Linked DNA regions of Homo sapiens: all the other regions are linked to region 2. The links are contacts of gene promoters, found by promoter capture Hi-C in human tissues and cell types (Jung and others, 2019). All regions are on one chromosome and are shown on one strand. Each heading gives the region's core, a stretch centred on a gene start or on the middle of the fragment in contact. The rest is flanking DNA. Distances are from core to core; before and after follow the strand shown.

Region 1 (7,190 bases), core at 3,214-5,713, 1.0 Mb after region 2:
TGAGAAATAATGGGCTAGAGGTCTACTTTAACATAAGGCACTAATAAACCCATGGCTCGACTTAAGACCTTTATAAACATTTTCTAACGGTATTGAATTTATTCAGTACAGTAAGTCATCCGCACGGAACCTTTGCCACATTACTTACTAACATAGGGTTTCCCTCCAGTGTGAGTTTTCATGTGTTATTTTAAGGATGGGAGACCACAGAAAGCTTTTCCATGCTGCATACATTTAGAGAGTTTCTCTCCAATGTGAATCCTTATGTCTTTGTAAGGACGAGAGTCTACCGAAGGCTTTTGTACACTCCTTACATTCGTAGGGTTTCTCTCTACTGTGAGTTCTCAAATGTCCTCGAAAAGATGATGACCAACTGAAGACTTTCCCACGCTGCTCACACACATAGGGTTTCTCTCCAATGTGAATTCTCACTTGTGTTCGGAAGTATGAGGGACTACTGAAGACTTTCCCACATTCCCTACAGGTGTACAGTTTCTCTCCAGTGTGAGTCCTTATGTGTCCCTTAAAGGAGGAGGGAGAACTGAAGGATTTTCCACACTGTTTGCATCCACAGCGCTTTTCCCCAGAGTGTGTTCTCATGTGAACCCTAAGGTCCGAGGGCCAACTGTAGGTGTTCCCACATTCCACACACCTGTAGGCTTTTTCTCCCGTGTGCATTCTGGCATGTATGATCAGGTAGAAGGAACGAAAGAAGGCCTTCCCACATTCTTTGCATTTGTAGGCTTTCTCTGGACTGTGAACATTTTTTTTTTTTTTTTGAGACGGAGTCTCGCTCTGTCGCCCAGGCTGGAGTGCAGTGGCACTATCTCAGCTCACTGCAAGCTCCGCCTCCCGTGTTCACACCATTCTCCTGCCTCAGCCTCCTGAGTAGCTGGGATTACAGGCACACACAACCATGCCTGGCTAATTTTGTATTTTTAGTAGAGACAGGGTTTCTCCATGTTGGTCAGGCTGGTCTTGAACTCCCAACCTCAGATGATCCACCTGCCTCGGCCTCCCAAAGTGCTGGGATTACAGGCATGAGCCACCGCGCCCGGCTTGTATTTTTTTTATAGAGATGGGCTCTCCCTATGTTGCCCAGGCTGATCTCGAACTCCTGGACTGAAACGATCCTCCTGCCTTGGCCTCCCAAAGTGCTGGGAATACAAGTGTGAGCAACCACATCTGGCCCAACTTGCATAAAACCTTCTAAGTAGGCGGCCACATTTTTTTCAATTACTTTCCATTGCTAAAATTTCTCTGGTCAATTTCAGACACAATGACTGACAGGCCAGCCTGCTACTCATAGAAGGTCTGGCTACAGAACATGAGAAGAACAGGTAGGTGCCAGCAGGCTTCCAAGTGAAAGGAACACCCATTTTCACTTCAATTATTTATCCCTGCTTGAATGTAACATCGTCAAAAATCACCATGATAGATAAAAAGAATGTAACGGTAGAAGTAAATCTTGTCATTGGAAGTGATAATATTGCTTTTCTGAGAAACTAAACATAACTGCAAAACTGCCAGAACTTGATAAAATACGTGCAATATACATAATTAAATGTATTGATGGACTAAAATTTCATTTTCTGGAAAAAGTATATAAAATATTGAGGAAGAGGCTAAACACCACCTGCCGGGTCTGTGTGAGGACAATTTCAGGTATCTCATGAGAAGGTGACAGAGAGGTCGCCCATGGGTATATAAACAACTTTGTGAGGGCGAAGACTCCTCAATTCAAATGCATTTGCATTCTGTAAGCATATTGAGTTCAGTGGGCCAGGCACGGTGGTTCATGCCTGTCATCCCAGCATTTTGGGGTCCTGGCGGGAGGCCATGAGTTCAAAATCAACCTGGGCAACATAGGTAGAGCCTGTCTACAAAAAATAAAAAGAGTTAACTGGTCCACGGGTTCTGGTTTACAGTGAGCTGGTTTTTTTGTTTTTTGTTTTTTGGTTTTTTTTTTTGAGATGGAGTCTCACTCTTTCACCAGGGCTGGAGTGCAATGGCACGATCTTAACTCACTGCAACCTCCACCTCCCTAGTTCAAGCCATTCTCCTGCCTCAGCTTCCCGAATAGCTGGGACTACAGGCGCTCGCCACCATGCCCAGCTAATTTTTGTATTTTTAGTAGAGACAGGGTTTCACCATGTTGGCCAGGATGGTCTCGATCTCTTGACCTCGTGATCCACCCGCCTCGGCCTCCCAAAGTGCTGGGATTACAGGCGTGAGCCACTGCACCCGGCCGAGCTATGATCTTGTCACTGCATTCTACCCTGGACAACAGAGCAAGACGTTGTCTCAAAAAAAAAAAAACACAAAAAAAACAAGAGAGAGAGATTGAGAGACAGTTAACTGGTTTATCCCAAATTTATTTATTTAATTTTATTTTTAAATTAAATTTAATTTTTTTTTTCAGACAGTATCTCATTCTTTTGCCCAGGCTGGAGTGCAGTGGCAGGATCTCAGCTCACTGCAACCTCCGCCTCCCAGGTTCAAGCGATTCTCCTGCCTCAGCCTCCTGAGTAGCTGGGATTACAGGCACGCGCCACCAGGCCCAGCTAATTTTTGTATTTTAGTAGAGACAGGGTTTCGCCATGTTGGCCAGGCTGGTCTTGAACTCCTGACCTCAGGTGATCCACCCACCTCAGCTTCCCAAAGTGCTGGGATTATAGGTGTGAGCCACCACGCCTGGCCTGGATTTTGTTTTTTTTTTTTTTTTTTGAGACGGAGTCTCCGTCTGTTGCCCAGGCTGGAGTGCAGTGGCGCCATCTCGGCTCACTGCAAGCTCCGTCTCCCGGGTTCAGCCATTCCCCTGCCTCAGCCTCCCGAGTAGCTGGGACTACAGGTGCCCGCCACCACGCCTGGCTAATTTTTTTGTATTTTTAGTAGAGATGGTTTCACCGTGTTAGCCAGGATGGTCTCGATCTCCTGACCTCGTGATCCACCCGCCTCGGCCTCCCAAAGTGCTGAGATTACAGGCTTGGGCCACCATGCCCGGCCCCGGATTTCTTGATCTAAAGAATGTCCGCCGGGCGCGGTAGCTCACGCCTCTAATTCCAGCACTTTGGGAGGCCGAGGCAGGCGGATCACGAGGTCAGGAGTTCAAGACCAGCTTGGCCAACATAGTGAAACCCCCGTCTCTACTAAAAATACAAAAATTAGCCGGACGTGGTGGCAGGCGCCTGTAATCTCAGCTACTCGGGAGGCTGAGGCAGGAGAATCGCTTTAACCCTGAAGGCGGAGGTTGCAGTGAGCCGAGATCACGCCACTGCACTCCAGCCGGGGCGACAGTGTGAGACTCCGTCTCAAAATAAAAAAATAAATAAAACAAAAAACAATGTCCAACAAAAAAACAAATCCAGCGAGGCCAGACAGGATAGGGGCTCCCTGGGGTCCGCCCATTTTCGGGATCAGGTGACTCGAGGTTTGGTCCTTATTTTAGTGCAGGCTCAGATGTCGGGGGCGAGCCAAAGTGCAGGGGCCTGTGGGAAGGACAGGAGGCTGGGAAACGTTTGGGTAAAAAAATCAGGACACTGGCCGTGCGCGGTGGCTCACGCCTGTAATCCCAGCACTTTGGGAGGCCGAGGCGGGCCGATCACGAGGTCAGGAGATCGAGACCATCCTGGCTAACACGGTGAAACCTCGTCTCTACTAAAAATACAAAAAAATTAGCCGGCGTGGTGGCGGGTGCCTGTGTCCCAGCTACTCGGGAGGCTGAGGTAGGAGAATGGCCTGAACCCGGGAGGCGGAGCTTGCAGTGAGCCGAGATGGCGCCACTGCACTCCAGCCTGGGCGACAGAGCGAGACTCCACCTCAAAAAAAAAAAAAAAAAAAAAAAAAAAAATCAGGACACTGACAGCACGTGCTCCAGCACGGGGCAGGGCCTCCATGGGGTCCGCGCCCACGCGGGGCAGCGCGGTGACGTCACGGCTGAGGACCCCGCCCCACGAAGGGCTCACCCCACGCGACCCACGCCGCTCGCTCGCCCCTCCCCTCCACGCAGCACTCCGGCTGCTCCGTGGGGAAACTGAGTCTGGACTTCTCGTGCCCGTTCGGGAGAAGGACGCGGGAGGCGCGGCCGAGCTGCGGGGAGAGGTTGGGCTCACCCCGGGCCAGAGCGAGTTCGCGCAAACGGGAGTGTCCACCGCTGGCGGGTCAGCCACTAGCGTTGGCTACGCGCCGGTCACTCGGGCGACAGGAGGCGGGGCGGCGCGGAAGTTATCTTCCAATCAGGTGCTCCGGGGGCGGGTCCGGAAAACTGTCCAATCAAGGCACGGGGCGGACACCGGGAAGCGGATTGCAGGTTTGCAGTAGTGTCCAATCGAAGGCCCCAGGGGTGAAGGGGGCGTGTCCAAAACGCTGTCCGCTCAGAGCGTTGAAAGGGCGGGGGCTTAGAGATTGTCCAATCAGGGCGCCGCTTCCTGAGCTCCGAGGCCCCGAGGGCGGGACGTTTCGTCCTCCCTGCCGCGCGTGCCCTGCCTACCACGAGCGGCCCGGGAGTACCTGTACCTTTCAGCTGCGCCGGCCGCGAGGCCACGGAGAGCTCGCCTTGGAGAGCCCAGGAGCAGGGGAGACATGGTGAGTGCGAGGCAGGAGCAGAGCCAGGGGACGGTCGGAGCGACGGGAACCGGCTGGAACCAGAGTCCGCCGAAGTCTGCGGCCGGGATTGGCTGAGGGACGCGCGGGGCGGCGCAGGACTAGCACCTGGGACCCGGGGACGCCATCACAGCGGCCGGGCTGGAGGACTGGGGGCAGTTTGGGGGGACGGAAGGGGCGGCAAGGAGCTTGGGGGTAACTTAGGGGGAGGCCTGGGCAGGAGGGGGGCTGGAGGTAGTTTGGGGGGACGGTAGGGGCGGTCAGGGGTCAGGGACCAGTTTGGGGGGACGGCAAGGGACGGTCAGCAGGTTGGGGATGTTACGCGTGTCCGTATAAGAGGTCACCTGAGCAGGCTTAGTGTGAGCCACAAGGCTGTTTACTCACTTGGGTGCAAGTGGGCTGAGTCTGAGAAAGGACTCAGCAAAGGGTGATGGGATTATTATTGGTTTTATTTTTTTATTTTTTTTATTTTTGGGACGGAGTCCCGCTCTGTCGCCAGGCTGGAGTGCAGTGGCGTGATCTCGGCTCACTGCAACTTCCGCCTCCCGGGTTCAAGCGATTCTCCTGCCTCAGCCTCCGGAGTAGCTGAGATTACAGGCGCCCGCCCTCACGCCCGGCTAATTTTTGTTTTTAGTAGAGACAGGGTTTCACCATGTTGGCCAGAATGGTCTCGATCTCTTGACCTTGTGATCCGCCCGCCTCGGCCTCCCAAAGTGCTGGGATTACAGGCGTGAGCCACCGCGCCCGGCAATCATTAGTCCTTATAGGTTTGGGACAGGCATCGGAGTTAGGAGCAGTTTTTTTGAGGACAGTTGGTGGGTGTTACAAAGTACATTCTCAAGGGCGGCGACGATGTTTCAAAGTACATTCACAAGGGCTTGGGGGATGTATTGTCACAAGGGCTGGGAGGAATATTACAAAGTACCTTCACAAGGGCGCGAGCGTGTATTGTCACAAGGGCGGGGTACATTCACAAGGGCGAGGAGGACGTATCGTACAAAGTACATTCACAAGGGCGGGGGAATATCACAAAGTACATTATCACAAGGGCGGGGGGCTTGACCATGGTGCGGCCAGCTCAGAGAACCTTACAGGGGACAGCTTGGGGGGATGGCAAGGGACGGCCTGGGGGTCAGAGGCAGTTTGGGGGACGACCTCAGCGGTGGGAGTTAGCTGCCCTGGGGGTTTTGTTGCAGGGTATCACTAATGCTGTGAAAGCTTTATTCGGGCAGCCGGTGTCAGTAAATGTACTGTACTGTTCTCCTGTTTGGCTTTTTTCTTCTCCTTAGTGACAATAGGAAAATGTTCAAGTGTGTTTTCTGCCTTCTGGTCCGTCAGGATAACACCTGTTTATCGTGGGGTACAGGCTAAGCATGGCCTAAGGAAGTCTCTCAGGAATATTCTGTCTCCCACCAGAATTGTAGAGAAAGTGTGCGCAGTTCCACATCTTATAGCAGCTAGAGATGGATTAAAATGTTCATAAAAATAGTAGTTTTTCAAATGCCAAAGCAATCAGACAAAAAATAATAGTTATTCTTCCATACAAGGTGCAGAGTTTGCGACAGTGTGTGATCGTGTTCCATTTCAGTTCAGCTAGACATGAGATTAATGCAAATTCTGCAAAAACCTGTAAAACTGAGGCGTGTTCCATTCTGGTTAGTTTCCAGTTTGTCACCAGGAGTATTGCTTCACTGATCCATCATCTGTTTGCTGACTGGGAAAAGCAGTTTCTGGCCATGTAAAGTCATAAAGACTGCCTTGGAACTCCCTTCCCCCACTTACACAAGGGGTGGAAAGCACTGATTCTGCTGCATTCTCACTCTACGGGATGAGGGTCTTTGTGGCATTTAAAGTGTAGCACCTGGAGCAGGGAGGTGAGCCCCAAGACCGGTGACTCCAGCTGAGCCCACAGTTGAGCCTGCACTGGAGGCCGCTGAGGGTGCAGCGGGGTCTGGCTGGGCAGCCTCCACTTGCTCAGTCCTCCTGCCTCGTAGAACAGCCGCAGCGGGAACTGTTCATGCTGATTGAGGCTGCTGAGCATGGGAAAGACGATTGTCCTGGAGATGTGCTTGTGGGCGTTTTAGCCTTTCTGAGGTTGCACCTGTGCTGTCTTGGAGCCGTTTCTAAGCAGTGGGTTTAGTTTATGCTTTAAGTGTTGTTTTTCTTTTTTGGAGACACTGTGTCTCCCAGGCTGGAGTACAGTGGCGTGATCTCCACACATTGTATCATCCGCCTCCCGGGTTCAAGCAATTCTCCTGCCTCAGCCTCCCGAGTAGCTGGGATTACAGGCACTTGCCACCACGACCGGCTAATTTTTATATTTTTAGTAGAGACGGGGTTTCGCCATGTTGGCCAGGCTGGTCTCAAACTCCTGACCTTAAGTGATCCACCCTCCTCCGCCTCCCAAAGTGCTGGGATTTCAGGCGTGAGCCACCGCGCCCGGCCTGGATTAAGTTTTAATATAAACACCAGTGGCCTTACTGCCCGCATAAATAGGCCTCCGGCCTCTCTTCAACACCTGTGTGCTGCTCCCAGCGCTCATCTCTGTTCTGCCCCCAGGGTAACCACTGTCCTGATTTTTTTTTTCA
Region 2 (7,333 bases), core at 480-2,979:
CCCCACCACTCTGGACGGCCCACTTCCCTTCGGCTGCTCCACGTGTCCCTACAATCCGAGCCCACGGACCAAGCCTCCTTGGAGTGTCCAGCTGCCCAAAGCGGCCACCGCTATGGCTATGAAATAGAGGCAGCATCGCACTCTTGATAGAAATGAGAAAATTGAGACCCAGATCGGGTAGAGGTCTTCTGTTTGGTGGCAAGGCCAGAATGCCAAGCCCAAGGGCAGCCGCACAGCTTTCCCCCAGCCCCCCACCCTCCCCGGAAGGGACAAGCACCTCTAATGCCCAAACCAGGGCCGGCCATCAAGGCCCACCGTCCCCTGTTGCCCAGTCCAAACTCCCAGTCCAGAAAGTGGAACCCTAGGAGGGGACGGAGTGAAAAAATACAGCCAGGCCCACCAGGCTCCCGGTTCCCCTCGCCGCCCCGGGGACTGCGCTAGGAGGGGCGTTGGTGTAGCCGAAGCGCTCCAACTACGCGCACCTTCCCGAATCGCCCGCCAGGTAGGGGTGAACAAACACGCCAGGGAAATACAGCAGTGTGGACCCGAGCCCCTCGAGGGTCCTCCAATACTATGAAGTTCCCCCGCCCAGACTCAGGCCCCAACCCGCGCTCCTAGCCTCGCCCTCCCCCTCGTTAAAATACAGAGAACGCAGAGAAAACGTGCCGGGCTCCCCCCATCCTGGCCCCACGCCAGGTGCTCTGCCGACCTCTGGGGAGAATCCGCGCGGCCACCCCGGCGGCGGCGACGCGGTTCCTCCTCCATTTTCACAGATAAGGAAACTGAGGCTGGGGGAGGGGGAGAACCCAGAACCCCAGAGCCGGATGCTCCAACCACGGTGCCCACCGCCCAGACCAGAACGCAAAAGAAAAAAAAAAAAACGGAACAAGGCCCAGAAAGGGAGAGAGGTGGTCTGCCCAGGAGTCTCAATCCCGCCCGCAGACCTCGCTGGGCCCCCGGAGCCCCCGCCACTGCCGCCGGGGCGGCCATCCGCTCGCCGCCCGACCGCGTGGCCGCCACGCCCCCCGCGCGCGCCCCACCCACCGAGGCCCCGCCCTGCCGGCCGGCGCGGCGGCGGCCCGGGCGCGCCCCCCTCCCCGCCCCCCACGCGCCACGCAGTTTCGGGGTCCTGGCGGGGGAGGGGTCTCAGGCGGCCGCCCCCGCAAGGGCCGGGATCGCGGCTGCACTCACCTGTGTGCGTCCGCAGGTGCGACTTTAGGTGCGAGGACTTGTAGTAGGCTTTGGCGCAGTCCGGGAAGGGACAGCGGTGGCTCTTGGCGGCGGCGGAGGGCGCGGCGCCGGGGGCGCGGCCCGAGGACGGGGACGAGGCGGCTGAGGAGGAGGAGGCGGGCGAGGCGCCCCCCGGGGCGGCTCCGGGTCCGCCGCGCAGGTCGGCCAGGATGCTGGCGGCCAGCAGGTGGGGCGCCGCGGCGGCGCCGGGGCCCGGGCCAGAAGCGGCGGGGGGCGGCGGGGGTGGCCCCGGGGTCCCGGGTGAGGCGGCCTCGCGGCGCGCCGCGCGCACATCCAGGCCGGCGGCGGGGCCCGCGCCCTCGGGGCCGGGCCGCCCGCGGTGCACCACGGCGCCCGAAGAGATGGCCATGAGCACGTCGGCGGCGAAGTAATCCACGCACGCCACGGCCGCCGACATGCCGAGCAAGGGCGCGCGGCGCGGCGGGCGGAGCGGAGGCGGCGGGAGCGGCGTCCGTCCGGCCGGCGGCGGCTGCTCGAGTGCGGGAGGCGGAGGAGGAGGAGGAGGAGGCCCGGCGCGCGCCGCCGCCGACGCCCGCGCTCGGCCTGCCCCGCCCCGCCTGACGCGTCCTGACGCACCGGAGCCCGCGGGGGCGGCCACAGCCCGCCCCGCCCGGAGGACGCCCCCTCGGGGCGCCGCAGCCACGCCCCCCGCCCGGCGCGCCCTCCACCACTCTCCGAGCCGCGCGCGGCCGCCGGGGGCGGGGCTCGGGCCGGAGGAACCCGCCCCCCGGCGCGCCCACTCCGGCCTCCGCCAGCGCCTAGCGTCTTAGGCCCGGAGCGCGCCTTCTCCGCGCTAGGGTGCAAGGCCGGGAGCCCCGCCCCCTCCCGGCGCGCCCCACTCCAGCGCGCGCCCCCGTACCCTTTCCCGGAGCACCACCCCCTCAAGCCGGGGCGGGAGGCCGAGGACCCCGCCCCCTCTCCGGCACGCCCCTCCTTCCGAGAGCGCGCCCCGCCCCATCCCGGCACGCCCCTCCCTCCCAGAGCGCGCCCCGCCTCCTCGCTGGCGCGCCCACCCCACGCCGGGGCGCGCGGCCGGCGGGAGCCCGCCCCCTCCCCGGATGCTTCCCTCCTGGCCCCGGGCGCGCCCCCGTTCGCGATGGAGGAGGGCTCCGATCCCCACGTGGCCGGGGTTGGAGGGGTGCGGAAGCGGCCGGCCCCGCCCCCAGGCCACGTGCGCGACCCTTCCCCCCTCTTCTCCCGGCCTGGGGCCCTGCTTTGACCCCGCACTCAGGCATCTGCTCGTCCTCTTCTCTGGGGTTCCCCCTCGCCGCTCACAGAGCCCCTCGGAGCCTCCCGGCCGAGACACCCGGTATCCCGCGCCCGCGGCGGGGCCCGGGAGGGTGGGGCAAGGCTGCGTTCGTTCCTCTTTTTGCACCCAGTTCCGGAGCTACTAGAGCGCGCCCCACTGGGGGTGGGGAGGGCCGGTTGGGTCCCAGAGGGTCGGGATAGGGGGACGGGAAGAGGGGGCCGAACGCAAAGGGCTGGGCTGGGCTGGGGGCGCCTGAGCGGGTCAGAGGTTCCCCGCCCTGCTGGGACACCGGGGTCCGGGGCTTCTCTTTCCATTCCCAGGCATCGATTCTTGGGGTTCGGACGGGAAAACTGAGGCCAGGTATTCGGGCCTCCCGGCCGCGAGGACGTCCAGGCCAACTTGTTAAATATTAGGGGGGACACCAGGGACGCGGATGGCCCAGTTCGCAGGCCCAAGGCGGCGGGGGCACAGAAACTGGGCGGCCCCCCTCGGTCGCGACCGCGCTCCCGCCCCTTCCCAGCTCCGGCGGGGCGGCGGGGACTGCGCAGTGGCCGGAGCTGCCTCCAGGGGGCGGAGCTGCTTTGGCCTGCGGCGACCTCCTGCTCTGGGTTGGGCATGGACAGAGGCCCTGACCCGATTCGGGGCTTCTCTAGCCCCATCCCCCGCCCACCTGCAACCCCAGCTGACGCCCTGAGGCTGACCACTGTTCCCTGGGTCGCCCGCACTGCGCCTGGGCTCAACCATGCTTGGTTAAGCCAGCTGAGCCCTCCCTGGGCCCCAGTAAGCCCACTCTACGTGGCTGGACAGAGCGGAGCCGAGAGAGAGGAGGTTCAGCGAAGTGTGGGAGGGTACAGGGTGCCCTGCACACACTTGCCCCTCTCCTAGGCCTGGGCTCCAGAGCCCTCTCTGCACCCCTACCATTCGGTGGGCGCTGGGGGTCGGCGTTCCTGCTCCTGCTGGGCCTCTGTTGTCTTTGAACTTCTAGGACGATGGGCCACTTGGGCAGGTCCCCCAGGTCCCCACCATCCCAGCAGCCCCCAGGGTCCTGGAACCCCGCATTGGCTTGTGGACAGGTGTGTCTTGAGGCCTCAGGGTCCACACCCAACCATGCGTCTTCCACTGATGTTTCCTGGGCTTAGAGCAGAACCAACCAGCCCTGCCCTCAAGGGGCTTACAGTTGTAACTGGGAGGCTAACGATGGGGGGCAGGGGTGAGCAGCCTCCAGGGGTGGGCCACATGGCCCCAGGCAGGACCTTCACTGTGAGACTCCATTGTCTGCCCACTCCAGCCATTATCAGGGTTTCAAGTGAGTGGCCTCATCTGCAGGTCATGCCAGCCACTCCACAGGCAGGAGACCCCAGGTGAGGGCACACAGCCCACACCCCACCCATGAGGCTTCTATTCACACCCCTAAGCCCCAGGAACACTCAGGCAACCCATGACCCCTGCGGTGAACACAGACAAACCTCCAGCAGCGCCCGGCACAGGGCTCTGTCCTCTCTTCCTTACTCTCTATGACCCTGTAAATTCTCCACCGGGTGCGGTGGCTCACGCCTGGAATGCCAGCACTTTGAGAGACCAGGGTAGGAGGATCACTTGAAGCTATCAGTTCAAGACCAGCCGGGGCAACGTAATGAAACCCCCAACTCTCCACATTAAAAAATGAGCTGCAGGCCGGGTGCAGTGGCTCACGCCTGTAATCCCAGCACTTTGGGAGGCCAAGGCTGGCAGATCACCTGAGGTCAGGAGTTCGAGACTAGCCTGGCCAATGTGGTGAAATCCCGTCTCTACTAAAAATACAAGAAAAAATTAGCCGGGCCAGGTGGTGGGCACCTGTAATCCCAGCTACTCAGAAGGCTGAGGCAGGAGAATCGCTTGAATCTGGGAGGTGGAGGTTGCAGTGAGTTGAGATCGAACATTGTACTTCAACCTGGGCGACAAGAGCAAAAACTCCATCTCAAAAAAAAAAATTAGCTGGAGGCCAGTCATGGTGGCTCACGCCTGTAATCCCAGCACTTTGGGAGGCCGAGGCAGGCGGATGACCTGAGGTCGAGAGTTCGAGACCAGCCTGACCAATATGAAGAAACCCCGTCTCTACTAAAAATACAAAAAAAATTAGCCGGGCCTGGTGGCGCATGCCTGTAATCCCAGCTACTCAGGAGGCTGGGGTAGGAGAATCGCTTGAACCCAGGAGGCGGAGGTTGCAGTGAGCCGAGATCGTGCCACTGCACTCCAGCCTGGGTGACAAGAGAGAAACTGTCTCAAAAAAAAAAAAAATTAGCGGGCGCAGTGGCCTCACACCTGTAGTCCCAGCTACTCAGGAGGCTAAGGTGGAAGGGTCGCTTGAGCCCAGGAGGTCAAGGCTGCAGTGAGCTGTGACTGCACCACTGCACTCCAGCCTGGGTGACAGAGTGGGACCCTGTCTCAAAAAAAAAAAAAAAAAAAGGAGTTGTCATTCCCATTCTACAGATGAAAAAATCAAGACTGGGAGAGGACCGAGAACAGCCGGCTCCTGCTCACAGCTAAGAGGCAGCAGACACTTTGGGGCATCCATAACTCAGCCCCTTCTTTCTTCAAACCTGTTCCTCACCTATAAATGGGGGCTCACCTCTACCCTTCCCTGACAGCGCCCAAGAGGATCAGGGGGACAGCTCCTCCCAGCCCCAAAGATGGACCTCCCAAGCCTGAGGGCTATGGAGCAAAGCTCAGCAGGGGACAGACAGCACCCAGGTGTTGCTGGGAGTGGGTCTCTAGCAGGGCAGGAAGAACACAACGGGACTCTCAGAGGGGCCACGGAGCCAGGAACTGGGGCCTTGCCTCATAGAGGGCAAAGAACACAGTCTCCCAGAGGACAGATGAGGGCAGAGGTCACATAACCGGGGGTGCACCCACAACATGGATACCCCAAGGTAGGTGAGGGCCAAAAACAAGGCTGCAGGGCCGGGTGCAGTGACTCACGCCTGTAACCCCAACACTTTAGGGGGCTGAGATGGGAGGACTGCTTGAGCCCAGGAGTTCAAGACCAGCCTGGGCAATATAGTGAGACCCCTGTCTGCATAAAAAACAAATTCAAAACTTACCCAGGCATGGTAGTGCACGCCTGTGGTCCCAGCTCTTCGGGAGGCCGAGGCGGGAGGATTGCTTGCGGCCCCGAGGTCAAGGCTGCAGAGAGCTGTGATACACCCCAGCCTGGGCAACAGAGCGAGATCCTGTCTCTAAAAATAGTGATAGATTGTCTGGGTGTGGTGGCTGATGCCTGTAATCTCAGCACTTTGGGAGGCCAAGGCAGATGTATCACCTGAGGTCAGGAGTTCAAGAACAGCCTGGTCGACATGATGAAACCCTGTCTCTACGAACAGTACAAAAATTAGCCAGGTGTGGTGGGGGGCCGCCTGTAATCCCAGCTACTCGGGAGGCTGAGGCAGGAGAATTGCTTGAACTGGAGAGGTGGAGGTTACAGTGAGCCAAGATTGTACTACTGCACTCCAGCCTGAGTGACAGTGAGACTCCCTCTCAAATAAATAAAAACAATAGTAAATAACAAAGATGCAGCAGAAGAGGGGGTAATATGTAAGGACGTGTGTGTGTGTGTGTGTGTGTGTGTGTGTGTGTGCGTGCGCGCATGCACTGGAACTGCCATATCTTCTTGATTTAAGACAGTCGGGTCTTTGCTTTGTGATAGTTTTAATAGTACTTTTCTGTAGTACTCAAACATTTTTTTTTACCATGTGTATTTACTACATGCCTCTGAATGTCAACAGGCATCTAAGCAATGCAATGATGGGCCATTTGTCCTTTCATTTTTAGGCTTTTCTGTATGAAAATTCATCTTCTAAATAAAACTCCCCCCACCCCCTGCCCAGTGTGGGCTGGACTGAGGGACTCGCTGCCGCAGAACAGGGCAGGGACAGGAGACGATGGCAATGGGCCCCGGGACATCCAGTGACCCCACCTGCACCAGGGGGCCGAGGTCAACATCAGGGGTGAAGTCGTCAGGGTCTCGGCGACCCCTGCTAGGATGTGAGGAGAAAGGGGCCTCCAGGAGGGTGTCCTGCCCCAAACCCTGTCACCTCAGTGTGACCTCAGGAAGACAGGCAAACCCAGATTAGGGCTTTTTTTTTTTTTTTTTTTTTTTTTTTTTTTTTTTTTGAGACAGAGTCTCACTGTTACCCAGGCTGGAGTGCAGTGACACGATCTCGGCTCACTGCAGCCTCTGCCTCCCAGGTTTCAGCGATTCTCCTGCCTCAGCCTCCTAGGTAGCTGGGATTACAGGTGCCCACCACCACACCGGGCTTTTTTTTTTTTTTTTTTGGAAATAGAGTTTCGCTCTTGTTGTCCAGGCTGCAGTGCAATGGCACAATCTCGGCTCATTGCAAACTCCCTCCTGGGTTCAAGCAATTCTCCAGCCTTGGCTTCCCGAGTAGCCGCGATTACAGGCATATACCACCATGCCCAGATAATTTTTGTACTTTTACTAGAAACAGGGTTTCATCATGTTGACCGGGCTGGTCTTGAACCCCTGACCTCAGGTGATCCACCCACCTCAGCCTCCCAAAGTGCTAGGATTATAGGCGTGAGCCACCGCACCCGGCCGATGAGGGGACGTTTTACAGAACACTTGAGCAGGCCTCCTCAAGACTGTCAAAGTCATTAAAGACAAGGAAAGCCTGAAGAACCAAGATAGACTTTTAAGAGACTCAAGAGACATAAGGATGAAATGCCATGTGGGACCCTGGATGGGGGCCGGGCCAGGAAAGGAAAAGACTTTGGGGGAAAACAGGAAGCTGGAACAGAGAGCCCGGGGTTTCACTGTCAGAGCTGTACCCATGTTAA
Region 3 (7,233 bases), core at 2,317-4,816, 1.3 Mb after region 2:
TTCCACGCTGTGGAAGCTTTGTTCTTTCGCTCTTCACAATAAATCTTGCTGCTGCTCACTCTTTGGGTCCACACCACCTTTAAGAGCTGTAACACTTACTGCGAAGGTCTGCGGCTTCATTCTTGAAGTCAGCGAGACCGAGAACCCACGAGAAGGAACCAGCTCTGGGACACAATAGTAGTGTTAGTACCCAAGGATGACTTCTATGGGAGAGATACTTGGTCTGGGAATCTTTAAAAAAAAAAAAAAAGGAAAGATGGAAGGGAATGGATGGGTGGATGAATGGGTGGATGGATAGATGAATAGATGGATGGATAAGTTGAGGGATAGATGAGTGGATGGATGGAGTGGCAGGATGGATGAGTGGATGAATCAATGGATAGATGGATGAGTGGGTGGATGGATGAATGGATGGATAGATGGATGGATTGAAAGAGGGATGAGTGGATGGATGGATGGATGGATGGTTAGATGGGTGGATGGGTGATACATGAATGGATGAGTGGGTGGATGAGTGGATAGATGGATAGATGGGTGGATGAATGGGTGGATGGATGGGTGAATGAGTGGATGGATGAATTAATGGGTAGATGGGTGGAAGGGTGATGGGTGAATGGATGGGTGGGTGGATTGGTGAGTGAAGGATGGATGGATGAGTGGATAGATGGATGGGTGGGTGGGATGGATGAATGGATGGATGAATGGGTGGGTGAATGCATGGATGGATGGGTGGATGAGTGGATGGATGGATGAATGAATGGGTAGATGGGTGGCAGGTGATGGATGAATGAATGAATAAATGGGTGAATGGGTGAGTGAAGGATGGATGGATGAGTGGGTGAATGGATGGATGAATGGATGAGTGGATGGGGGTGTGGGTGGGTGGATGGGTAGATGGGTGGACGAGTGAGTGGATAGATGGGTAGATGGATGTATGAGTAGATGGATAATGGGTGAACAGATGGGTGGATGGATAGATGAGTAGATGAAGCGATGGATGGATGGGTGGATTGAGTAAATGGGTGGACAGGCAGGTGGATGATGGATGGATGAATAGATGGGTAGATGGATAGACGGATAGATGGATGGATGAGTGAATGAATAGATGGATGGGTGGATGGATAGATGGATGGATGGGTGGGATGGATGGATGGATGGATGGATGAATGGGTGGATGGATGGGTGGATGAGTGGATGGATGGATGAATGAATGGGTAGATGGGTGGTGGGTGATGGATGGATGGATGAATGGGTGGATGGATGGGTGGATGAGTGGATGGATGGATGAATGAATGGGTAGATGGGTGGTGGGTGACGGATGAATGGATGAATGGGTGGATGGGTGAGTGGATGAATGGATGAGTGGATGGGTGGGAGGGTGGGTGGATGGGTACATGGGTGGATGAGTGAGTGGATAGATGGGTAGATGGATGGATGGGTAGCTGGGTAATGGGTGGACAGATGGGTGGATGGATGGATGGATGAGTAAATGGAGAGATGGATGGGTGGGTCGGTGGGTGGATTTCGTAAATGGGTGGACAGGTGGATGGATGATGGATGGATGGATAGATGGGTAGATGGATAGATGGATGGATGAGTGAATGGCTGGATGGGTGGATGGATGGGTGGGTGGATGGATGATGGATGGATGGATAGATGGGTAGATGGATAGATGGATGGATGAGTGAATGGCTGGATGGGTGGATGGATGAGTGGGTGGGTGGATGGGTGGATGGATGAGTGAATAAATCGATGAATGGGGTGGGTGGGTGGATAAAAGTTTAGGAGTGAAGGTAGAGGCTGGGAAATCATGGGGAAGTCTGGGCCAAGGAAGTGATTTTTAGGTGTGGCCCAGGAGTGAGACGAATGAATGGAGTGAGGGCTCAGAGGACACTGAGACCCGAGATGAGAGGTGATGCCCACAGTTCCCAACTGGTCAGTTGCTGATCCCACTCCCGTCTCAGTCTCCAGAGCCCCCTCTCGACGGCTGCTTACCCTGTCTGGCTCTGGATGTGGGGTTTGAGGGACTCTGAGGATGCATGGGAGGAGTGGGTCTCAGGGATCAGGAGACACATCCAGCAGCTGCAGCCTAACTGCTTCATCATCAGTCCCGGTTTCCCCTCCTGTGCAATGGGGCAAGTCCCTTCTTGCTTGAGGCCCTGGGCCGGGCCCGTCCAAAGCCTCTGTTCTGGGACTTCCTGAGTAACGGTTGCATCCCCAGGGAAATGACGCACAGATGGTTATCAGCGACCCACATTTCTCAGAAGAGAGAGAACAGGAAGGTGGGGGCAGGGTTCAGGCTTTTGTTACGGTGCGTGGGGCTGAGTCACAGATGGAGGGGAGGACGTGTGCTCTGGGAACAGCCCTCATTCCCATCTGTGTGGCCACTGGACATGCCCATGGCCAGCCAGAGCACAGGAGCCCCATAGCACAGATGGGAAAACTGAGTTTTGGAGATGTTTGGCAATTTCCTCCGCCGGGTCGCCCAGCCAGCACCAGGGCACATCTCAGATCTGTCCAACCTGCTCCCCTCTAATATGGGGGTAGAAAGCAGGCAGCCCAGCACAGTAGAAGCTTGGGAAAGTCCCCGCTCCTCCCTGGATCTCAGGCTTCTCATCTGTAAAATGGGCGTAAGACTCATCCTTGCCTCGCGGGAATGACATGGCAAATCCACGAGAGGCTAGCACCTATTCTTGCTGTCGCTATTATGGATCTTGGCATATCCCAGACGTGATGGGGGTTGGGGGTGTCACGGAGCAGGCTCCTGAGCTCTGAAAGGGGGCACCTCGGTTCCCTGTAGGATCGTGGACGTCGGGGGCCAGAAGTCAGAGCGTAAGAAATGGATCCATTGTTTCGAGAACGTGATCGCCCTCATCTACCTGGCCTCACTGAGTGAATACGACCAGTGCCTGGAGGAGAACAACCAGGAGGTGCGCCACCGCCTCCCTCGCCCTGCCCACTTGTTGGCCCAGGGACCCTCACCTGAGCAGGAAGCTCTGGTGCAGAAAGGGAGGGATCCCTGCTCTTGAACGGGCCTGTGTGTGCCCAGCATGGCTATGAACTTGACCCTTCAGCCTTTTGTGGTCAGATTGCAGCAACCCAAGACACAGACCTACAGCATTTGTTTGGTCAGGACCCCAGACACACACACACACACACACACACACACACACACACACACTACAGTGCACACACGCACATACACAATGCATGCACACAAACACGCACAGACACGTGCATAATACATGCACATACACACGTGCACACACGGGACACATGTACACACGCAGTGCACATGCACAACACATGCACACGAACACACATGCACCACACACATGCACACTTGCATGCACTCACGTGCACAATACACGCATATGTACACATGCGCACACACATGAACACACACATGCACACACACAGTACACACATGCACACGCACACACAGGCACACACACGCACACACAGGCACACAGGCACACACATGCGTGCACACACACATGCACGCACACGCACAGGCTGGAGTGCAGTGGCGCGATCTCGGCTCACTGGAAACTCCGCCTCCCGGGTTCACACCATTCTCCTGCCTCAGCCTCCGGAGTAGGTGGGATTACAGGCACCCGCCACCACGCTCGGCTAATTTTTTTTTTGTATTCTTAGAAGAGAGGGGGTTTCACCATGTTAGCCAGGATGGTCTCAATCTCCTGACCTCGTGATCCGCCCGCCTCGGCCTCCCAAAGTGCTGGGATTACAGGCGTGAGCCACTGTGCCCAGCCAATAGCCTCTTTTAATAAGTACACCAGTCGTCTAGGATCAGGGCCCACCCTACTCCAGTACGACCTCATCTGGGTTAATTCCTCGTGTGATGGCCCTGTTTCCAAAGAAGGTCACAAACTGAGGTTCTAGGGGGTTAGGTCTTGAACGTATGAATTTTGGGGAAATATGATGTACCCCATAACACAAGGCATTTGAGACCTTATTGTACTTTTTTTTTTGAGATGGAGTCTCGCTTTTGTCGCCCAGGTTAGAGTGCAGTGGCGCGATCTCAGCTCACTGCAACCTCCGCCTCCCGGGTTCAAGCGATTTTCCTGCCTCAGCCTCCCGAGTAGCTGGGTTTACAGGCACCTGCCATCATGCCCGGCTAATTTTTTGTATTTTTAGTAGAAACGGGGTTTCACCATGTTAGCCAGGCTGGTCTCCAACTCCTGGCCTCAGGTGATCTGCCCGCCTTGGCCTCCCAAAGTGCTAGGATTACAGCCGTGAGCTGCCGCGCCCGGCCAGGTCTCCCTCTTCTTATGAGGACAGCAGTCACGGACTTGAGGGCCACCGTATTCTAGTATTGCCTCACCTTAACGACCTCTTCAAAGACCCTATCTCCAGGCCAGGTGCAGTGGTTCATGCCTATAACCCCAGCACGCTGGGAGGCCAGGAGTTCAAGAATCTCTCTCCAGATAAGGTCACACTCTGAAGCTCTGGGGGGACATGAATTTCGGGAGGACACACTTCCAACCAGCACAGGCACAAAACCATGTCAGGCACACCCAGGCAGCTGTCCATATGGAAACACGGGCACACCCGCCTCAGCCCCAGCCAGGCAGATAGGGGTGAGCCCATGCCCCTGGAGCCAACAGCCCCGTCTCCGCGATGGGAGGGTTTCCTGTCCCACCTGGCTGGTTGAAGCACTAACCTGCTTCTGCCCCCAACACAGAACCGCATGAAGGAGAGCCTCGCATTGTTTGGGACTATCCTGGAACTACCCTGGTTCAAAAGCACATCCGTCATCCTCTTTCTCAACAAAACCGACATCCTGGAGGAGAAAATCCCCACCTCCCACCTGGCTACCTATTTCCCCAGTTTCCAGGGTAAGTAATTCTAGAACTTTCTATACCCTTCAACTCCCAAAAGCAGCTCCGAAGAGAGATGCTAATCCAGACTCTACTTCAGCCTGGAGTCACCGGAACTTTCACATAGGATCAGACCCGCGTTCTAGACTCAGCTCCATCCACTGCCCGACCTCATTGAATCTGTTTTCCCTTCTGTGGAATGGAATAAAATAGCAGAGGCCCTTGGAACTGAGTAAAGTGAGGAATTCTAAAAACACGTAGCATATCACGTACACCTTAAACATTTTATTTATTTATTTATTTTTGAGACAGAGTCTTGCTCTGTCACCAGGCTGGAGTGCAGTGGCGTGATCTCGGCTCACTGCAACCTTTCCCTCCAGAGTTCAAGCGATTCTCCTACCTCAGCCTCCCTAGTAGCTGGAACTACAGGTGCGCGCCACCACGCCCAGCTAATTTTTGTGTTTTTAGTACGAAAAGACGGGATTTCACCATGTTGACCAGGATAGTCTCGATCACTTGACCTCCTGATCCACCCGCCTCAGCCTCCCAAAGTGCTAGGATTATAGACAGGAGCCACCATGCCCGGCCAAACATTTTATTTTATGCTTGTTGGCCAACATTTGGGGTTTGAGCCAAGATCCTTCAAGCATGGGTTTGCTATGTAGAGGTCACTGTTGTAAAGCACTTCTGGAAAGATTGTCTACTATTTCCAGAATCTGCCTAGGTTTTAAGAATGATTCTTTTTCTTTTCTTTCTTTCTTCTATTTTTTCTTTTTGAGACAGAGTCTCACTCTGTCACCCAGGCTGGAGTACAGTGGTGCGATCTTGGCTCATGGCAACCTCCAACTCCCCGGTTCAAGTGATTCTCCTGCCTTAGCCTCCCAAGTAGCTGTGATTACAGGCACGTGCCACCAAGCCTGGCTAATTTTTAGTAGTTTCCTGTCCTATTTTTAGTAGAGATGGGGTTTCACCATGTTGGTCAGGCTGGTCTCGAACTGACCTCAAGTGATCCACCTACCTCAGCCTCCCAAAGTGCTGGGATTACGGGCGTGAGCCACCGCATCTGGCCATAACGTTTCTTTTTCTAATCTTTCATAGTGATCTCATCTATCCCTAATTGGATAGCAATTTCTTTTTCTTTAATCCATTTTTTCTTTAATTTTTTTTTGTTTGTTTTTTGAGACGGAGTCTCGCTCTGCTGCCCAGGCTGGAGTGCAGTGGCGCAATCTCAGCTCACTGCAAGCTCTGCCTCCTGGGTTCACACCATTCTGCTGCCTCAGCCTCCCGAGTAGCTGGGATTACAGGTGCCCGCCAGAACGTCTGGCTAGTTTTTTGTATTTTTGGTCGAGATGGGGTTTCATCATGTTACCCAGGTTGGTCTCAATCTCCTGACCTCATGATCCACCTGTCTCGGCCTCCCAAAGTGCTGGGATTACAGGCGTGAGCCATCGTGCCCAGTCTATTTTTTCTTTAATTTCTTTTCTTTTTTTTTTTTTTTTTGAGATGGAGTTTTGCTCTTTTTGCCCAGGCTGGAGTGCAATGGCACAATCTCGGCTCACCGCAACCTCCGCCTCCCGGGTTCAAGGGATTCTCCTGCCTCAGCCTCCCGAGTAGCTGGGATTGCAGGCATGAGCCACCACCCCGGCTAATTTTGTGTTTTTAGTAGAGACGGGGTTTCTCCATGTTGGTCAGGCTGGACTTGAACTCCCGACCTCAGGTGATCCACCCGCCTCGGCCTCAAAGTGCTGGGATTACAGGCGTGAGCCACCACACCTGGCCTTTCTCTTTAATTTTTAAAGCAGAGCTTTGAACAATGTTTCCAAAGCACACAGCTTAGTTTTGTAATACAATGACCTTCTTTCATGCGGCACTTGTAGCTACAGATTTGCATAACGTTTCTTTTAATTACATATGAATCAAGACACGTACAATGGGCAAAAACAGGTTTGGGAACAAACTCTCAGTCCATCCAGAGGGTGAAAGGGCCACAGGGCAACTACAGAGAAACACCATCTAGTGTTGGGCACCACTTAGTATATTTTACAAAGGGGAGGCAGAGTTGTGGTTAATCCAGGGACCAACGTGGGGAAGGTACATATTCACTAGCACTTTCCCCAGAACACCACTGTGAGGATAAAGTGTGGTGGCGGGTGTCCTGCTTAGCTACTGCCGAGTAACAAACCATCCCCAAACTTAGTGACTTAAACTGGTCATTTTCCTTTGCTTATGATTTTGTGGGTCAGGAATTTGGGAAAGGTTGAGCTGGGTAAGTTCATCTCTGATCCATGTGACATCAGCTGGGCTCTATGGGATTGGAGATAAACTTCCAAGATGGCTTCTTCCCCCATATGTCTGGTGCCTTGGTGCTCTTGGCACTCTTGGCCTCTCTCTC
Region 4 (6,734 bases), core at 1,504-4,003, 1.6 Mb after region 2:
ACCCCCAGCCATTATGGGGATTTTTGTTACACAGCTTAGATAACAGATTCAGAAGTACTTTCAATATGTAAACTGGACCATATCACTCCCTTGCTTAAAATCCTCCTATGCCTCCTCACTCAACTACTTGACAGTCCCAAAGGCCCTTCATGACCATCTCCCATCACCTCTTCCCTCTCTAGCTCCACTCCAGCCACACAGGCCTCCTCGCTGTTCCTCCAACACGCCAGGCCCAGTGCAGCCCTAGGGCCTTTGCATTTGCTGTGATCTCCATGAGGAACATTCTTCCCTAGATGTCCCCACGTAGCAGGCCAGGCCTCACTAACACAGGCCTCCATAACTGTTTCAGCACTGACTGAGTGGTTAAGTTAAACATTAAAAGCTAAAAGAGCCAGTGCCCTCATACAAAGGCTGGAATGTAACAAAAGCCCATGAAGAGTTTTGCCCAGGCCTTTCCTGGGCCTTAAGGCATGACAAGATAATGAAGGAATTTTTTTTTTTTTGAGACAGAGTTTCGCTCTTTTGCCCAGGCTGGAGTGTAGTGGCATTATCTCGGCTCACCACAACCTATGCTTCCAGGGTTCAAGTGATTCTCCTGCCTCAGCCTCCCGAGTATCTGGGATTATAGGCATGCACCACCATGCCCGGCTAATTTTGTATTTTTAGTAGAGACAGGGTTTCTCCATGTTGGTCAGGCTGGTCTCGAACTCCCAACCTCAGGTGATCCACCCGCCTCAGCCTCCCAAACTGCTGGAATTACAGGCTTGAGCCACCACACCCAGCCAATAACGAAGGAATTCTTAATGTGACCCGTTTAGGATGAAACAAGTTTTACTGGGTGTCTGAAGAACTCCCCAAACCTCCATGATTTAGCAGGAGACAAGATAAGGATGATCACCCCAGCACCTGGACCCACTGGAGATGAGATAAGGGTGATCACCCCAGCACCTGGACCCATTTAGATTAAGTAAATTTACTGAGGTTCCAAAGGAAAGTCTTCAGGATTCAGATCTTAGTTATAGATTAAAAGAAGTTAGTCACTTTAAGTCTTTAGATGGATGCTCAGTTACATGTAGATGGAGAGCTTAGAGGGTATATAAGCTCTGGAAAACTTTGTCATTTTGAGTTGGTCTGGCGATATTTTCCAGGCCTTCTCCCTGTAACCGGTTACAGAAATAAAAACTCTCTTCCTCCCCAGTTAATCTGCATCTCGTTATTGGACCATGAGAAATAGCAGCCCGACCCTCAGTTTGGTCCAGGAACACCCGTGCTCATCCTCTTGCTTTCCTGGGTCTCCAACATCACTTCCTCATGGAAGCCTTCCCTGATCACAATGGACAATGTTACTCTTCCATCTCTTTTCACTTATTCAGCTTTATTTTTCTCCACGGCGCCTAAGACTCCTAGATATCATATTGGAAAGTATTGGTTTAGTTGCTTGTGATTGGTCTTATCCCTCATTAGAATAGAACTCTGAAGGCTGGGACTGAGTCTATCTTGGTCACTGTTGTATTCCCAGCACTTAGTGCAATGACCTGCACGCAGTAGGGCCTCAATAAAAACAATAACCGGCTGGGCGCGGTGGCTCACGCCTGTAATCCCAGCGCTTTGGGAGGCCGAGGTGGACAGACCATCTGAGTTCAGGAGTTCGAGACCAGCTGACCAACATGGTGAAACCCCATCTCTACTAAAAATACAAAAATTAGCTGGGCGTGGTGGTGGGCGCCTGTAATCCCAGCTACTCGGGAGGCTGAGGTAGGAGAATCGCCTGAACTCGAGAGGCGGAGGTTGCAGTGAGCCGAGATCGTGCCATTGCATTCCAGACTGAGCTACAAAGCAAGACCCTGTCTCAAAATAAATAAATAAAATAAAAACGACAACCGTGACAATAGCAGCTGACACTTATGTAGCATTTGCTACGCGCCAGGCACTCCATGCTCTTTACATTCATTAATTCATTCGATCTACATCACTACCCTGTGAGGTAGTTACTAAGATTGTCCCCATTTTACAGGTGAGGAAACTGAGGCACAGTTTGGGACTGTGCTTGGGAACTTGCTTGGGAGCAGCGTGAAGAGTTAGGAATCCAGGAAGTCTGGCTCCAGAGTCGGGCTCTAAACCACCAACGCTTTGTTGAATGACTTAGGATAAAAGAACACAGCCAAGGGGAGAAGGGACCCCTCTCTTTCCAGATCGGCTGAGAACCTGGCGGATGCTTCATCTCAAGACAGGCTGGCTATGGCATGCTGGCAGCCCTCTCTGGTGAACAGTGGCGTCAGCAAGGCTGCCTGGGCTTGACGAGGGCAGTGTAGCCACCTAAGCACAGGTGACCATCAAAGGAGAGTGACACCTTTAAAGAGGGGTCATCAGAAACCAGAGGGCAGGCCTGTGCGAGCTGGCAGGGCACTGGGGACCATTGAGACCCAACCGTACGACATAGGAGCTTCAGGACGTGAGGTGGGCACTCTTTCATGTAAAAAATCCCAGAGGAAAGAGATCGCCGGGACTCGAGACCCCTTAACCCGCCCCATCCACAGTCAACGAATCCCTGAGACCGGATTCCCTAACGAGGCGCTCCCGGTGCCACCGCCCGCCAGACCCGGGCCCCACACCGTGATCGCCGCCTCCGGGACGCCTCACCGAGCTCTGGAGACTCAGGACCCGTCGGCCCGGCCAGTAACCGCAGGCGCCTCTGCCACCACCGCTTCACCTGCCGCGACGCCCGCAGTGCGGTCTGGGGGCCGCCATTTTCTCGCCCACGTGACCGTGCCGGACGGCACCAACGCAGCCGCGGGTGAGACCTAGTGAGAGGCTCCGTGCATGAGGGAGGCCCGGAAGGCTGAGTCGGTGCTGGTGCCACAGCTCATGCAAACGCAGGAACAGTATTCCTAGTGCGTTCTTCGGGGAAGGGGACGGGCAACGTATGCCCTTTCATGGGAAAAAATTCTCTCCAACCTCCCCACTGCGGTACAAGAAGTGAGACTGGTTTGTGCCGATTCAGCGCCCTGCCTGGGCTGGCTAGCAACGGAGCATGCGCAGTGTTTCTAGGCGTGGTCAGACTCCAGAGGTGTTGGCCAATGGGCTCAGGGAGCTCGAACCTTAAGTAGGTGAGGAATAAAAAAAGGAAGAAATGCAGTCGTTCATTCATTCATGTATGTAATAAATAGTACATGGCCTTGAGGACAAGAGAGCCTTCAGCCCTTACCCTCGTACGCCTCCCAGTGTTGTTATAGAGACAGAAAATAACACGATAAGTAAATGCAATACCTATTAGATGGTGAAAAAGGCTAACGAGAAAAAATTCGGTAGCCAAGGGCGGTGTATGTATAGGGTGTGCAGTTTCAGGAAGGGTGGCCAGAATCTGAGGTGGTGACATCTGAAGAAAGACCTGAAAGAGGCCGGGTACGGTGGCTCACACCGGTAATCCCAACACTTTGGGAGGCCGAGGTGGGTGTTATCACTTGAGGTCAGGAGTTCGAGACCAGCCTGGCCAACATGGTGAAACCCCCATCTCTACTAAAAATACAAAAAGGCTTCAGCTTCCCGAGTAGCTGGGATTACAGGCATGCAACACCACACCAGCTAACTTTTTGTATTTTTAGTAGAGACAGGGTTTCACTATGTTGGCCAGGCTGGTCTCAAACTCCTGACCTCAGGTGATCCACCTGCCTTGGCCTCCCAAAGTGCTGGGATTACAGGCGTGAGCTACTGTGCCCTGCTTGCAATCTCTTATTTTTAAAATGTGGGTGACTGCCAGGAGTGGTGGCTCATACCTGTAATCCTGGCACTTTGGGAGGCTGTGGGGTGAGAGGATGATCGATTGAGCCCAAGATTCCAAGACCAGCCTGGGCAATGTGGTAAGCCCCCGTCTCAACAGAAAAAAAATTTTTTTTAATTTGGCTGGGCGCAGTGGCTCAGCCTGTAATCCCAGCTACTTGGGTGGCTGAGGCAGGAGAATCGCTTGAGCCTGGGAGACACAGGTTACAGTGAGTTGAGATCCTGTCACTGCACTCCAGCCTGGGCAACAGAGCAAGACTCCATTTCCAAAAAAAAAAAAAAAAAATCAACTGTGCCTGGTGGCTCATGCCTGTAGGCCCAGCTACTCAGGTGGCTTGATAGCTTGAGTCCAGGAGTTCAAGGATCCAGTGAGCTGTAATCACACCACTGGATTCCAGCCTGGGTGACAGAGCAAGACCCCATCTCAAAAAAAAAAAAAAAATGAGCAATTAATAAAAAAACATGGCTGGGCATTGTAGCTCACGCCTGTAATTCCAGCACTTTGGGAGGCCAAGGCAGGTGGATCACTTGTGGTCAGGAGTTCAAGACCAGCATGGCCAACATGCTGAAACCCCATCTCTACTAAAAATACTAAAATTAGCTTGGCCTAGTGGCGGGTGCCTGTAATTCCAGCTACTCAGGAGTCTGAGGCAGGAGCATCACTTGAACCCAGGAGACGGAAGTTGCAGTGAGCCAAGATCGCGTCACTGCACTCCAGCTTGGGTGACAGAGTGAGACTCCATCTCAAAAAAATAATTAAATAAAAATTAATGAAAAAACATAAAATGCTGTGCATAGCAAAGAAATCCTTTTGGAAGGCCAACTTCTATTTTAAGACAACATTCACAAATACTTATTGAGCAACTACTGTGTGCTGGACAGTGTCCTGAGCACAGAGGATAGTGTCCTGGGCACAGAGGACACAGGACAAAACAGACACAGTGTCTGGCCTCATGGAGCTGACACCCCCACTTTTATTTTTTTGAGACAGAGTCTCGCTCTGTCACCCAGGCTGGAGTGCAATGGGGCGATCTCAGCTCACTGCAAGCTCCGCCTCCTGGGTTCACGCCATTCTCCTGCCTCAGCCTCCCAAGTAGCTGGGACGACAGGTGCCCACCACCAAGCCCAGCTAATTTTTTTGTATTTTTAGTAGAGACGGGGTTTCACCGTGTTAGCCAGGATGGTCTCGATCTCCTGACCTCGTGATCCGCCCGCCTCGGCCTCCCAAAGTGCTGGGATTACAGGCGTGAGCCACCGTGCACGGCCCACCCCCCCTTTTTTTTTTTAAATTATTGTATTGCCTTCCTATGTGTTGGAAAACTGACTGCAGATAACAGGCATCACTGCAGCCCTCAGCTGCCTTGCGAGGACGTCATCTCAACATGTTTGTGGCTCAGGCTGTTTACGGAGGACTTCCCGTGGACCAGGAGCTGTGCTGACTCAGGAAGGCTACGAGGGCAGGGTGCCAGGTGTGACTGGCCCCAAGGATGCTCCCCAGGAGGAGATAATCCCAGGGTGCAGGACGCAGATATCGAAGCCTCAGCCAAAAGCAAGGCCTGTGTAAGTCAGAGAACTTGGCATCTGGCCTCTGTAGACCTTCGAGAAACTGATAGCACAGAAGAACCAAGTCTGCGTCTTCTGTTCGGTGGGTCCTCTGGGATTGAGCAAGTCCCTGGGGGGCGGAAGTCTGGAATCCAGGTATCTGCAGATCTGTGGCCTCTCTGGAGGCTCCAGGGGAGGATCCTTCCTGCCTCTTCCAGCTTCTGGGGGTGGCCGCCAGTCCTTGGTGTTTCTCAGCTTGTGGCTTCGTCACTCCAATCTCTGCCACTGTCATCACCTGGCCTTGACCCCTGTGTGTCTGTCTCTGTGTTTCTGTGTTAGAATCTCCCTCTCCTCTCCTTTTATTTTATTCTTCTGAGACAGAGTCTTGCTGTGTTGCCCAGGCTGGAGTGCAGTGGCGCGATCTCAGCTCACCGCAACCTCTGCCTCCCGGGTTCCAACGATTCTCCTCCCTCAGCCTCCCGAGTAGCTGGGAATACAGGGGCCTGCTACCATGCCCGGCTAATTTTTGTATTTTTAGTAGAGATGAGGTTTCACCATGTTGGCCAGGCTGGTCTTGAAGGCCTGACCTCAAGTAATCTGCCCACCTCGGCCTACCAAAGTGCCGGGATTACAGCCGTTAGTCACTGCGCCCAGCTCCTCTTTCAGATCTTTATTAAAACATCATCTTTGCAATAAGAGCATCCCCGAGCACTGCATCTGAAACTGTAACCTCTTGCCTCCTCCTTTTCCCTGTTCTCTTTTCTCCTTAACTCAGCTCCAAAGGGGATTTTTTTTTTTTTTTCTGGAGTGCAGTGGTGCAATCTCGGTTCACTTCAACCACCGCCTCCCGGGTTCAAGGGATTCTCCTGCCTCAGCCTCCCGAGAAGCTGGGATTACAGGCGCGTGCTACCACGCTCAGCTAATTTTTGTATTTTTAGTAGAGATGAGGTTTCGCCATGTTGACCAGGATGGTCTCGATCTCTTGACTTCATAATCCGCCCTCCTTGGCCTCCCAAAGCACTGGGATTATAGGCGCAAGCCACTGCGCCGGGCAAGAACTTTTTAAATAACAGCTGTATTGAGATATAGTTTACATACTGTACAATTCATCTGTGTAAAGTGATAATTCAGTGGTGTTTAGTATATTCAGAGTCGGGCAGCCATCATCACATAAATTTTTTTTTTTTTTTTCCGAGACGGAGTCTTGCTTTGACACCCAAGGTGGAGTGTGGTGGCATGATCTGGGCTCACTGCAACCTACACTTCCCGGGTTCAAGTGATTCCCCTGCTTCAGCCTCCCGAGTAGCTGGGACTACAGGTGCGCGCCAGCACACCCGGCTCATTTTTGTATTTTTAGTAGAGATGGGGTTTCACCAGATTGGCCAGGCTGATCTTGAACTCCTGACCTCAAGTGA

The links. Contacts are between HindIII fragments. The study calls those that stand out against the background at their distance.
Region 1: a contact is called between the fragment with the promoter of ZNF57 here and the fragment with the promoter of KLF16 in region 2, in 1 of the 25 tissues and cell types used here (lymphoblastoid cells).
Region 3: a fragment that was not itself captured here is called in contact with the fragment with the promoter of KLF16 in region 2 in 1 of the 25 tissues and cell types used here (lymphoblastoid cells).
Region 4: the fragment with the promoter of DOHH here is called in contact with the fragment with the promoter of KLF16 in region 2 in 1 of the 25 tissues and cell types used here (spleen).

What each region holds. Positions count from the first base shown.
Region 1 is chr19:2,896,465-2,903,654 of GRCh38, forward strand. It overlaps ZNF57 (zinc finger protein 57), which reads left to right and starts at 4,464. Exons shown (of 4, transcript NM_173480.3): 1 at 4,464-4,584. The coding sequence starts at 4,582. It also overlaps the pseudogene LOC100419704. RefSeq lists a silencer at 3,852-3,901 and enhancers at 4,081-4,652, 4,512-4,661. The HindIII fragment of the contact is 10,438 bases long and covers 1-7,190 here.
Region 2 is chr19:1,861,850-1,869,182 of GRCh38, forward strand. KLF16 (KLF transcription factor 16) reads right to left here and starts at 1,730. Exons shown (of 2, transcript NM_031918.4): 1 at 1,192-1,730. The coding sequence starts at 1,648. RefSeq lists enhancers at 1-158, 3,266-3,820, silencers at 973-1,142, 1,193-1,372, 1,703-2,802, 2,873-3,092 and a promoter at 1,619-2,823. The HindIII fragment of the contact is 11,768 bases long and covers 1-2,764 here.
Region 3 is chr19:3,153,023-3,160,255 of GRCh38, forward strand. GNA15 (G protein subunit alpha 15) reads left to right here. Exons shown (of 7, transcript NM_002068.4): 5 at 2,801-2,930; 6 at 4,706-4,859. It overlaps GNA15-DT (GNA15 divergent transcript), which reads right to left and starts at 2,153. Exons shown (of 4, transcript NR_110670.1): 1 at 1,996-2,153. RefSeq lists enhancers at 1,769-2,726, 2,014-2,343, 2,384-2,473. The HindIII fragment of the contact is 4,542 bases long and covers 1,296-5,837 here.
Region 4 is chr19:3,497,921-3,504,654 of GRCh38, forward strand. It overlaps DOHH (deoxyhypusine hydroxylase), which reads right to left and starts at 2,754. Exons shown (of 5, transcript NM_001145165.2): 1 at 2,641-2,754. It overlaps LOC105372245 (a long non-coding RNA gene), which reads left to right. Exons shown (of 4, transcript XR_936262.3): 4 at 2,015-3,131. RefSeq lists an enhancer at 2,756-2,865. The HindIII fragment of the contact is 49,740 bases long and covers 1-6,734 here.